Regions from separate parts of the Homo sapiens genome. Here all the other regions are linked to region 3. Evidence: promoter capture Hi-C in human tissues and cell types (Jung and others, 2019). All regions are on one chromosome and are shown on one strand. The core of a region is centred on a gene start or on the middle of the fragment in contact, and the rest is flanking DNA. Distances in the headings are between cores, read along the strand shown. Region 1 overlaps DNAJC17 (DnaJ heat shock protein family (Hsp40) member C17). Region 2 has its middle 51 kb from the start of INO80. Region 3 holds the start of CHAC1 (ChaC glutathione specific gamma-glutamylcyclotransferase 1). Region 4 holds the start of INO80 (INO80 complex ATPase subunit).

The links. Contacts are between HindIII fragments. The study calls those that stand out against the background at their distance.
Region 1: a fragment that was not itself captured here is called in contact with the fragment with the promoter of CHAC1 in region 3 in 2 of the 25 tissues and cell types used here (pancreas and spleen).
Region 2: a fragment that was not itself captured here is called in contact with the fragment with the promoter of CHAC1 in region 3 in 6 of the 25 tissues and cell types used here (IMR-90 fibroblasts, adrenal gland, lymphoblastoid cells and 3 more).
Region 4: the fragment with the promoter of INO80 here is called in contact with the fragment with the promoter of CHAC1 in region 3 in 2 of the 25 tissues and cell types used here (lymphoblastoid cells and mesenchymal stem cells).

What each region holds. Positions count from the first base shown.
Region 1 is chr15:40,785,737-40,788,440 of GRCh38, forward strand. The region is part of intron 1 of DNAJC17 (DnaJ heat shock protein family (Hsp40) member C17); the gene reads right to left. Among named protein-coding and RNA genes, the nearest start is that of C15orf62, 17 kb to the left of the region's middle. The HindIII fragment of the contact is 6,259 bases long and covers 1-2,704 here.
Region 2 is chr15:41,165,781-41,168,480 of GRCh38, forward strand. No RefSeq gene overlaps it. Among named protein-coding and RNA genes, the nearest start is that of INO80, 51 kb to the left of the region's middle. The HindIII fragment of the contact is 6,382 bases long and covers 1-2,700 here.
Region 3 is chr15:40,952,220-40,954,919 of GRCh38, forward strand. It overlaps CHAC1 (ChaC glutathione specific gamma-glutamylcyclotransferase 1), which reads left to right and starts at 1,252. Exons shown (of 3, transcript NM_024111.6): 1 at 1,252-1,595; 2 at 2,009-2,044. The coding sequence starts at 1,365. RefSeq lists an enhancer at 461-1,054 and a silencer at 726-985. The HindIII fragment of the contact is 19,989 bases long and covers 1-2,700 here.
Region 4 is chr15:41,114,932-41,117,631 of GRCh38, forward strand. INO80 (INO80 complex ATPase subunit) reads right to left here and starts at 1,349. Exons shown (of 36, transcript NM_017553.3): 1 at 1,042-1,349. RefSeq lists enhancers at 211-991, 617-666, 747-796, 847-926, 992-1,771 and 2 more and a silencer at 1,027-1,296. The HindIII fragment of the contact is 26,384 bases long and covers 1-2,700 here.

The DNA.
Region 1 (2,704 bases), core at 51-2,550, 170 kb before region 3:
TGCTGTGGGGTAGATCTAAAATTCAATCCTGGGTTCACTCCCAGGGTCTCTGAAATACTCTTATTCAAGGGGTAGAAGGGATGGGTAGGTAGCCTGAGATCTTCCAGAGTGGCCTTGAATCAAAACCCAGCTGGCCTAAGAATGTTGGTCAAGTATGTCTGTCTTGATTAACTAGTTATTACTATATTTAACTGTTAAACCTGCCCTGGGCAGGGCCCATCCCTTGGTTTTAGCCTGGAAGACCAGTTTTGACTTTGAACCGGTTGGCCTAGAATTTGGTGCTTTGTACTACAAACTAGATTCCCAGCTTTGTCCAGCCCTCCTGGAGTTGACTGCTGCCTGAAGAATTTCTCACCATGTAAACACAACTCTCCTAAAGCAGGCCTTTGAAAAACCTTCCGGTCTCAATATTGTTTATTATTAAATAATCCTACCTTATGAACAGCTCAAAAGGCTAGATTCAGGGTAAAAATGTACAACAATTATTTTTTATAACTATCACAAAATTGGGAAGGAGAGGAACTTTCAGAAGAACAAGAAATAGAAGGGCCATCCTCTATAATCTTACTCCTTATGATATAGGATAAACAGGACTGCTGAAAGCCAGGTATCCCGGGTTGGAAGCTCCTCCAGAAACTGACTCTGGCCCAGGTCCAGTGGCTCACGCCTGTAATCCCAGCATTTTGGGAAGGTGAGGCGGGAGGATCGCTTGAGCCCAGGAGTTTGAGACCACCCTGGGCAACAGAGCAAGACCCCATCTCTAAAAAGAGAAAGAAAGAAACTGTGTCTGCAGGTGCTGGGATCACTGAGGCAGAGCTGAAGCAGCCACAGCAAGGTGTGGCTTTTCACTTGCAGCTTTTCTTCTTTACCTATAGGTTTCCCCTAAATCCCCTGGTCTCTCTAGCGCTTAGAAACACTTGCATTTCTGAGACTTCACAAAGGATCCAGGTGACAGTTCAAATGTTTCCAACCCAAAGTTCCCCATCCAGATCATGGCTTTTCAGAGGAGAAGCTCTTTCTAAGGCCCAGCCTCAGAAGGACGAAGATCTCAGATAAATGTAAGCTCCGTGAGTACTTCGAACTGCAATTTGCAGAAACTTGGTCTTTCTCCTGATGGCTTTCTAAAAACCTCACTGTCTACCACCCTTTTTCCATCCTAGACTGGTTGAGTTTAATCTGTTTTTGATGTCTCAGGATCATCATCCAGAACATCAACTACTGAATAGTATGACACGTTCTACGGAGAGTGGTGTCAGGCTTTTCATTTGCTTCCCTAGGTGGCGAGGATTTTAAATTCTACTCTTTTAATAGTTTTCCTATTACTTCCTTAGTTGGCCTCTACTAGACTGCCAGATGCCAGCCCTTCCCTAGAAGTGCTGCTCATCTGCTGCTTCTTTTCTGGTATGGTCTAGAGAAACAGATAAGCTGGTTATAACTATACCTTAAATGAGAGCATAAGGGTATAGGAAGGTATGGGGGTTCCCCTTACAAATAAAGTGGATGTACTTAGGAGGCAGGGAGTTCTGCTTCTCCCCAGGGTCCAGAACAGTGAACAGCACCTGGCATTCAGCAGGCACACAATAAATATCTGTTGCATGAATTGGCAAACATTCATTTGTTCTCAACCAAAACACAATCGGAAACCTCAACTATGTCAATTACTTCAGACCCACTGAGGAGCAGAAGGAAGTAGGTGCCATCCAGACCCTAGGAGATCTGACCACTATTTCACAATTTCTCCTCCTCCCTGCTAACACCTCCTCTTAAAAAACCAAGTCTGGGAAAGGGAAGGAATTACTAAAGCAGACTGCCAGGATAACCACAGTGGGAACTAAATGTTACCCCCTCATTGCCCACATCAGACAATGAATAATAAATTGGCAGCCACCCAGCCCTTCCCCGGAAGCTCTATAACCGGTTCTACCACTTTCAGCAACCTGAACCCAGAGCAGGGGAGGAGGGCTGGAAGCTGGGTCTCTAGCCACCTCCACTGGGTTTTGCCGCAAGCACACAGCAGGGCCTCTGACATCCACCTGCCTCCAGTTTCACCTCTTGATGGGGGAAGGAACTCCTGACTCACCCAAAAAAGCTAAGTGCTAAGGGATCCAATAAATACAAAATAGCCATCATTAACTTAAAAGAAAGGTGCCCTACAAAGAAGGGATCATTATTTTTTAAAAGGTTGCTGTCCTTTCTTGTAATAAAGCTTGGAGCCAGGTAAGTAAGTGGTACAAGTAAAGAGGCCGAGGCTGATAGGTTAGACTTAGATAAGGAGGACACAGAGGGAGGCAGCTCTATGTGACAACAAGCACTGAATGGACAAAGCATCCCGGGTAAATCAGCTGGAAACCCACTGCCAGGCCCAGTTCCAGTCACAGGCACAGTGAGTGATAACAGCTGGGGCAGCCACGTCTCCCCAAGCCCGGAGAGGCAGATGCCTCCCCATCCCCTCACTAGCAGGAACCCCAGAGGTATATGACTGCCTGATGTCACACGCAGGAAGCAAACAACAGAGCTCTGGGCACCTGCCTAAAAGTCCCCTCTGGCCAGGCATGGTGGCTGATGCCTGTAATCCTAACACTTTGGTAGGCCAAAGCAAGAGGATCGCCTGAAGCCAGGAGTTCAAGATCAGCATGGGCAACAAAGCGAACCCCACCTCTACAAAAAATTTAAAAATGGGCCGGGCACGGTGGCTCACGCCTGT
Region 2 (2,700 bases), core at 91-2,590, 210 kb after region 3:
CTGTTTGGTTGTGGGAGATGAAGACATAGTCCCTCACAGACTGTCGGCTGGAGTCCTTGGTTCTCTGTCGGGCCGAATCCTCCCAAAAGTATTCTCCCAACATGGCAACCAGAACAAGTGATCTGACAGAAAGAGTGCACCCAAGATGGAAGCCATAGTATTAGGCCTTTTAGAAGCAAGGAAAGTATATACCAAGATTCTGGGAAGATGGCAGGGTGGTAACGGTGGCATACTTTCTAGATCTTCTCAAATCCCCATGTAAAAACAGAATAATTAGAGGACAAAACTCCAAACCCATGAACAATATTTACAACATACTGGGTGATGAAGTAACTCATAAACCTGAAATTGCAAAGAGGTGGGGACAACCCAAGAGATACTGACAACCATGTGGGAAAAACAGTAGAGGGAAGCAATGGGGTATCTGACAGACCTAAGAAGAAAATTGGTATTCACTAGAGAGTGTTAAGCGCCAATTTGAGAACAACAGCTGAAACCAAAAGGGGTTTTTTCACTCCAATAGCAATTGCATGAAAGGATCCCACAGTCTGAAGGTATACCCAGGCTTGAACAGTCTAGACCCTATAAGCTCTGTATAATAACCAACCATGGATCCCTTCCAGGACAAGTTCACACACTGGGGAGAAACTTCTAGAAATGGAACAAAAACTGAGCAGGGTAGGGAAAACAGAAAGGAAAGAGAGATAAAAGTACTAGGGAAGAAGACAAAGCCAAGAAATCTCAGAAAGCAAATAACTGTGATTTTAACACTACACAAAAACAACAAAATAGGAAGCTCTGTGAAGTTAAAAAATTAATTGAGCCTAGCCTGATGTGGTGGCTCACACCTGTAATGCCAGCACTTTGGGGAGCCAAGGCAGGAAAACTGATTGAAGCCAGGAGTTCTAGACCGCCTGGACAACATAGTGGGAACCTGTCTGCCCCCGCCAAAAAAATTTTTTTTTGAGACGAAGTCTAATTCTTTCACCCAGGCTGGAGTGCAGTGGCGTGATCTCAGCTCACTGCAACCTCCACCTCTGGGTTCAAGTGATTCTCCTGCCTCACCTCCCCAGTAGCTGGGATTACAGGCATGTGTCACCATGCCTGGCCCAAAGAAACCCCTTTTTTTTTTTTTTTTGAGATGGAGTCTTGCTCTATCACCCAGGCTGCAATGGAATGGCGTGATCTCGGCTCACTGCAACCTCCGCCTCCCGAGTTCAAGCGATTCTTCTGCCTCAGCCTCCTGAGTAGCTGGGACTACAGGCGCATGCTACAGTGCCTGGCTAATTTTTGTATTTTTAGTAGAGATGAAGTTTCACCATACTGGCCAGGCTGGTCTCGAACTCCTGACCTTGTGATCCGCCTGCCTCGGCCTCCCAAAGTGCTGGGATTACAGGTGTGAGACACTGCGCCCAGCCCCAAATTTTTTTTTGAAAACTAGCTGGGCATGGTGGCACATGCCTCTAGTCCTAGCTACTTGGGAGGCTCAGGTGGGAAGATTGCTTGAGCCCAGGAAGTCAAGACTGCAGTGAGCAGTGATTATGTCACTGCACTCCAGCCTGGGTGACAGAGTGAGAGTGTCTCAAAATAAAAAAAATAAAAAATAAATAGATGAACACTCTAATATATTGGTGCATAAAAAGCTAAAATGCATTAAGAATATTATGTAAGATGGCCGGGCAGGGCGTCTCATGCCTGTAATCCCAGCACTTTGGGAGGATCACTTGAGGCCAGGAGTTGGAGTCTAGCCTTGGCAGTATAATAAGAACCCCATCTCTAAAAAACAAACAAAAAACTATACAGCATATTTTAAAAATCACACTGTATCTGAAAATGGTGATCCAGAATGACCAACACCAAAACATAGTCTAACAAAATCATTTGACTTGAAAGAAAAAGAGGCCAAGGTGGGCAGTTCGCTTGGGTCCAAGAGTTCGAGACCAGCCTGGGCAACATGGCGAGACTCTGTCTCTACTAAAAATACAAAAAAATAGCTGGGTATGGTGGTGCACGCCTGTGGTCCCAGCTACTGAAGTGGGAGGATCACTTAACCCCAGAGGGTGGAGGTTGCAGTGAGCTAAGATTTCGCCACTGCACTCTATCCTGGGTGATAGAGTGAAACACTGTCTCAAAAAAAAAAAAATTATATCAGTCGGGCGCGGTGGCTCACGCCTGTAATCCCAGCACTTCGGGAGGCCAAGGCAGGTGGATCACCTGAGGTCGGGAGTTCAAGACCAACCTGACCAAGATGGTGAAACCCTGGCTCTACTAAAAATACAAAATTAGCCAGGCGGGGTGGTGCATGCCTGTAATCCCAGCTACTTGGGAGGAGGCAGGAGAATCGCTTGAACCCAGAAGGCGGAGGTTGTAGTGATCTGAGATCAAGCCATTGCACTCCAGGCTAGGCAACAAGAGTGAAACTCTGTCTCAAAAAAAAAAAAAATTATATCTTAGTAAAACCGTTAAAAATAATTTGTGGTTGATATAACTTACAATGAGAGTTCATCAAACTACAAATGAGGTTTCTGGTTTACATAATACTATTCTGATTTTCTTCCTATTTGTCTTCTCCTTCTTGGTCTCTGTGTGTATCTCTTCCTGTTTACTTTTTTTTTTTTTTGAGAGGGAGTCTCGCTCGTCGCCCAGGCTGGAGTGTGCAGTGGCGCAATCTCGGCTCACTGCAAGCTCCGCCACCTGGGT
Region 3 (2,700 bases), core at 2-2,501:
ATCTGCGACACCTTCGGAATGAATATGTGAAGTGTGAAGATCACGTTTAGTTTAAATATTGAATTAGAATCGAATGAGAAGCCATGTTGCACATTGCCCCTGCCAGCCATCTCCTGGCCAGTTTAGAGAGAAGGCCTTCAGCTGCCTCTGTTTCCCTTTTACAGTCAGTGACATCCCCTGAGGGCAGTCCCTTGCTGCGTATTGGGTCAACCCCCGGCGGCCTGTGGACTCGGCTGGGAGGCCAGAAGCCGAGGGAGAAGACCAGTAGCTGGCCATAGTCTTGTGGGGGCCTCACTGGGCCCTCCTTGCCCGCTGCTCCCGGAACCTTGTGCCTATGGATTAATCATTGCTGCAAAATCTCACGTCCAGGAAGAATTAAACCCATCGCCTTGGGGGCAAGACTAGCCTGGCTTTTGCATCTTTATAGCCTTTCTCCGCAGGTGCAGCCACCACCTCCAAAGTGACTGCCGGTCGGTCCAAGCGCTCTAACAGGCTCTTCCCCGAGCCTACCTGGGCTCGAGGGGTCCCACACCTGGTCCGGGGCGTAGCCCATGTGAGGCCTGCAAGCTCCGGGCGCCTGGCCTACCTAACTCAGCCCCGCAGTCTCTGCAGAACCCCCTGCAGCCCCGTGGCCCAGTTTCTCCATTTGCTCACAATGGCCAACGGCGTGAGGCACTTGAGCGGAATGCGGACGGTGCCTCCGACAGCTTTCCCGCAGTGCATGATCTCAGGAGGGGCCCCAGAGACGGAAGTTTACGACGCCCAGAGCGCTCCTTCTGGACGTGCCCTGGACTCGACTTGGGACTGAGTCTGTGCCGCCTAGGCTGGCAGGGACTCGGCCAGATGCACTAGCGGCAAGGCTGGGCTGACACCGCCTGGGACTCGCTCGCCGTACCTCCAAGGGGCCCAGGTCATGAGGGGGCGGCTGGGGAGACGCCCGCCCGGTGCCCGCCCTGGGCCCGGCGGGTGCCCCCTGCCCGCCGCCTGACGCAATCCGAGGCGCCCTTGCTGCATGCCGGCGCTGGAGAAACCTCCCCTGCCGTTGCATCACTCCTGCCAGGTTTGCCACAGAGGTGGAGCTGAACCAATCAGCGGGCGCGCTGGGCCCGCGGCGCGGTTAAGTGAGAAGCAGAATCCGAAGTTGATTGGCCAAAAGGGGATTTGCCCCACCCCAATCACCGCGGCAGCTGGCCGCGGTGGGCGTGGTCTCCCGGCAAGAAGGTTTAAAGGGCGCCTCCATGGGGGGCGCTCAGCTGGAGCTACCGAGCGGTGCCAGGCCAGGTGTGTGCGTCCGTCGGTCTTTCCGTGCCCACGCCGGAGACCAGCCCCGGAGGCCGCCTGGGCCTATCCCTGTGCCAGGCACCATGAAGCAGGAGTCTGCAGCCCCGAACACCCCGCCCACCTCGCAGTCCCCTACGCCGTCCGCTCAGTTCCCCCGAAACGACGGCGACCCTCAAGCGCTGTGGATTTTCGGGTACGGCTCCCTGGTGTGGAGGCCCGACTTCGCCTACAGCGACAGCCGTGTGGGCTTCGTGCGCGGCTACAGCCGCCGTTTCTGGCAGGGAGACACCTTCCATCGGGGCAGCGACAAGATGGTGAGCATCCAACCGTGCCCAGGGGAGTGAGGGGGTTGGGGGCGGGATACTGGGCGCCAGTGCCCTGGAATGTCCGGGGCTCTCTGGGCCAATAGAAAGAAATGTGTAAACCTGTGTCTGGGGTTTGTGGCTCATTTAAATGTATGTGCCCAGTGCATCACTGTGATGGCTGGAGTCTGTGAACCTGTGGATCCCTGTGTTGATCACCAACTGGGACCACTGACATGTCAGTGTTTCTGGACGTTTCTCCTACATCCGTGCATCGCTCCCCCACCTTCCCCTGCATGAATGGGACTCAGCATGCAGAGTGGGGCACTTGGAGGCCCGGGTCAGCGGGATTGATAAAGGTTTCCTTGCTGATGGCAGAGCTGATTTCTAACTTGTCTATTTCAAAATATTTCTTCCCTCCCTAGCCTGGCCGTGTGGTGACGCTCCTTGAAGATCATGAGGTAAGTGCCCGAATCATGAAGGGGAACCCTGGCCCAGTGTGAAGGGGGACCAGCAGAGAGAGCTCATAGGCTCTTGGCTGCAGGCTAGCTCTGTCTGATGCTTCTCTGGCAGAGTAGAAACGTGTTCTAGCTCAGTGCTTCTCACCAAATCACATGAGGATCTTGTTAGAATGCAGATTTTAGTTCAGTAGCATGAGAATGGGTCCTGAGACACAGCATTCCTAACTAGCTTACAGGTGATGCCACCACATCCTGGACCACACTTTGAGGAGGAATCCTGTCTTCCCTGGTACTAGACCACTTTGTCAACTGTTTTTTTTTTTTGTTGTTGTTGTTGTTGTTTTGTTTGTTTGTTTTTGAGACAGAGTCTTGCTCTGTTGCCCAGGCTGGAGTGCAGTGATGCAATCTTGGCTCACTGCAACATCTGCCTTCCAGATTCAAGCGATTCTCCCACCTCAGCCTCCCGAGTAGCTGGGATTACAGGCATGCGCTACCACACTCAGCTAATTTTTGTATTTTTAGTAGAGACGGAGTTTCACCATATTGGCCAGGCTGGTCTGGAACTCCTGATCTCAAGTGATCTGCCCACCCTCAGCCTCCCAAAATGCTGGGATTACAGGCATGAGCTACTGCACCTGGCCTCAACTATGCCTTTT
Region 4 (2,700 bases), core at 99-2,598, 160 kb after region 3:
AATTAAATAGTGGTTGATGGCTACAGAATTTAATAAATATAGTTTCAGAAAATTACTTAATTATACGCTTTAGAAAGCGGAATTTTTTGGTATTTGAATCATATTTCAATAAAGCTATTATTTAATTTAAGTTGCCACTGAAAAGCCACAATAATTTTGTTGTGGAGGAAATAATGAAAGTCACTGACTGGAAAAGTAACCTGTGACGTTAGCCAGGTCAACCTCCAAATTCCTTCCCCCATTTCTAACAAGTACATCAAACTAGAGACAGTGTGTGAATCAAAGAATTCCAGGCACAGTTGGCTGTTAACTAGAATAGTAAGTGGCTGCCTAGGTTCTGTCATTCCTAAACTGTAGGGGGCTTCTAGCCTCGGAGATTACGGAAGTAGTACTTTCCATTAGCGAGCTCAAGAAGGAATGTCAAAATAGGATGACACTTTCCTAGTCGCTATGTAAAAACCTAAAAAACCAGAAGAGGTGTCATCTAGACACTCCCAAGTCTATGCAGGTGTCAGCCTGCCCCCACCCAACACCAGCCAGCAGCGTGCACCATTCAACCGTATCTCAACTTGCCCCTTACAAAATGACACACTAACAAGCCCTTAGATCTCATTTGTTTAAAATGACAGATACACAACCTTCACGGGGTTCCCACTCAAGGCCTTCCAGCCTCCGCCCTGCCCCTGCCCACCCCCAAACCTACACACGTGTTAGCCCGACACCGCCCCACCGGGTCCCACGTGCACCTGGTCTAACACACTCCCCACGTGTGGGCGCCCCACGGGCTTCCTCAGGTGGCTGAGGTCACCGCATGACCCCGGGTCTCCAGAGATATGAAACGGGAAGGACAAGGCCCTAGTCCCTGAGGTCCCAACCCTGCGGGGAGTGTCCACACCCATCCTCCATACTAACCCCAACAAATCCAAGGGCCGGGGGCGACGGCCCCTTTAAGACGCGGCCCAGTTGTCGCCCGCAGAGAGGGGCGCAACAAGACCTACACAACCCCCACTCCGTTCGCCCGCCCACGTCTAGTTGCCTCACCTCGGGCCGCCTGGCCCCGCCGCCGCGACGGCGGCGGAGGGGGGGCGGGGTGCGGGCGGGGTCCGGAGGGGGGGGTCGCCCCGCCGACGGTGGAGCCGCGGTTCGCTCTCTGAGGCCGTGGGACGGTGACTGCGTTGGGCGTGGACGCTCCTAGCTCGCTCCCTCCGCGGCTCCTGGGACCCCAAGATGGCGGCGGCGCTGAGGCGGCTGCGGGCGCTGGGCCGGCGGCGGCGGCGGCCACTTTCACTCACTGAGAGGAGCGGAGCAGGGACACGGGGAGCCATGGCGGGGGGGAGGAGAGGCGCCATAGCCAGGCCAGAACAATCGAGCCGCTACACGGGTGGCTTACCCCCACCCCGCCCACACTCACTGCTCGTCGCCTGCCCGTGGCCACCCGTAGTGCCGCTGCCGTCGGCCTCGCGCAGCTCGCACCCCGCCGCTGCCACCTGACGCCCCGTGCGAACCGGGGTTCGAGGGGAGACCCTGATCCATGCCATCTGAGTACAGATTAGTCGGGACTGGGACTGGCGAAGATTGCCGAAAGGCGGCGGGGAGGAGGAGGAGGATGTCATCGCTACAGTGAGCAAGCAGATCTCGCAGGAGAAAATGTCGCGAGAGCTTTCCAGGCCCGCAACCGCCGATGCAAGGTTACTTTTCCCGGAAGTAACGTCAATCGAAACCGCCCGGGATCCTGGGATATTTGTTCCCGCAGGCTAGAGGTGGGAAGGTGCAGCCAAGTTGATAAGATCTCTTTAGGGGAAGGAGAGGCTCGCAGCTGGTATTTTGTTACTAGTTTCTGACCCCTTTGGATGGGGTTGTAGATTGTCGGGGAAGTGCCTGGTGTGTAGTTCGACTACTATACAGTAATTAGTTTGGGGCTCCCATTTAGACTCTGGGAGCAAGAACGCTATAGGTTGGGTAGGACAGCATAGTTAGATAAGATGTCTACGTGAAGGTTGTGGGATACAAGGACTTGGGAACACGCAGACCTGTTATCGGAAATGCCAGCCTGTTCTCACATCCACACAGTGTGCCTCTGAAAAGCGAATAATTGCTTTTACCTGTGCCAATTCTACAATTTGAGTCCACTGCCACCCACATTTACTAAACTTGGGGTCTCGCTATGTTGCCCAGTCTACTGGGCTGGTTCCCAGTCTCCTGGCCTGAAGTGATCCTCCTGCCTGGAAGGATCACCTCAGGCCAAACGTCTCAGAGCAGTCCATTAGACTGGTCAACATAGCGAGACCCCGTCTCTACAAAAAAGACAACATAATAAATGTAATCGACCCAACTACCAGGATGTGTGGTGAGAATTGCCTAGGGTAAGGCCTAGGTGTAGATAAGAATTAGAACTTACTGAAAGTTAAATATGCTGTTAATTCAGTTCCTTTGGGTCTCATTCTTTAATCCATTTTAACCTGGCCCTTAGCATTTAACTAAAAAGTACTTTATTAAGGTCATCAAGTAGCCTTCTTGTGCTGAGTTAACTGACCTTTAAAAAGTTAAATTTGTGTCAGGGTGCAGTGCCACACGCCTGTAATCCCAGCACTTTGGGAGGTCAGGTGGTCGAATCACCTGAGGTCAGGAGCTCGAGACCAGCCTGACCAATATGGTGAAACCCCATCTCTACTAAAAATACAAAAATTAGCCGGGCGTGGT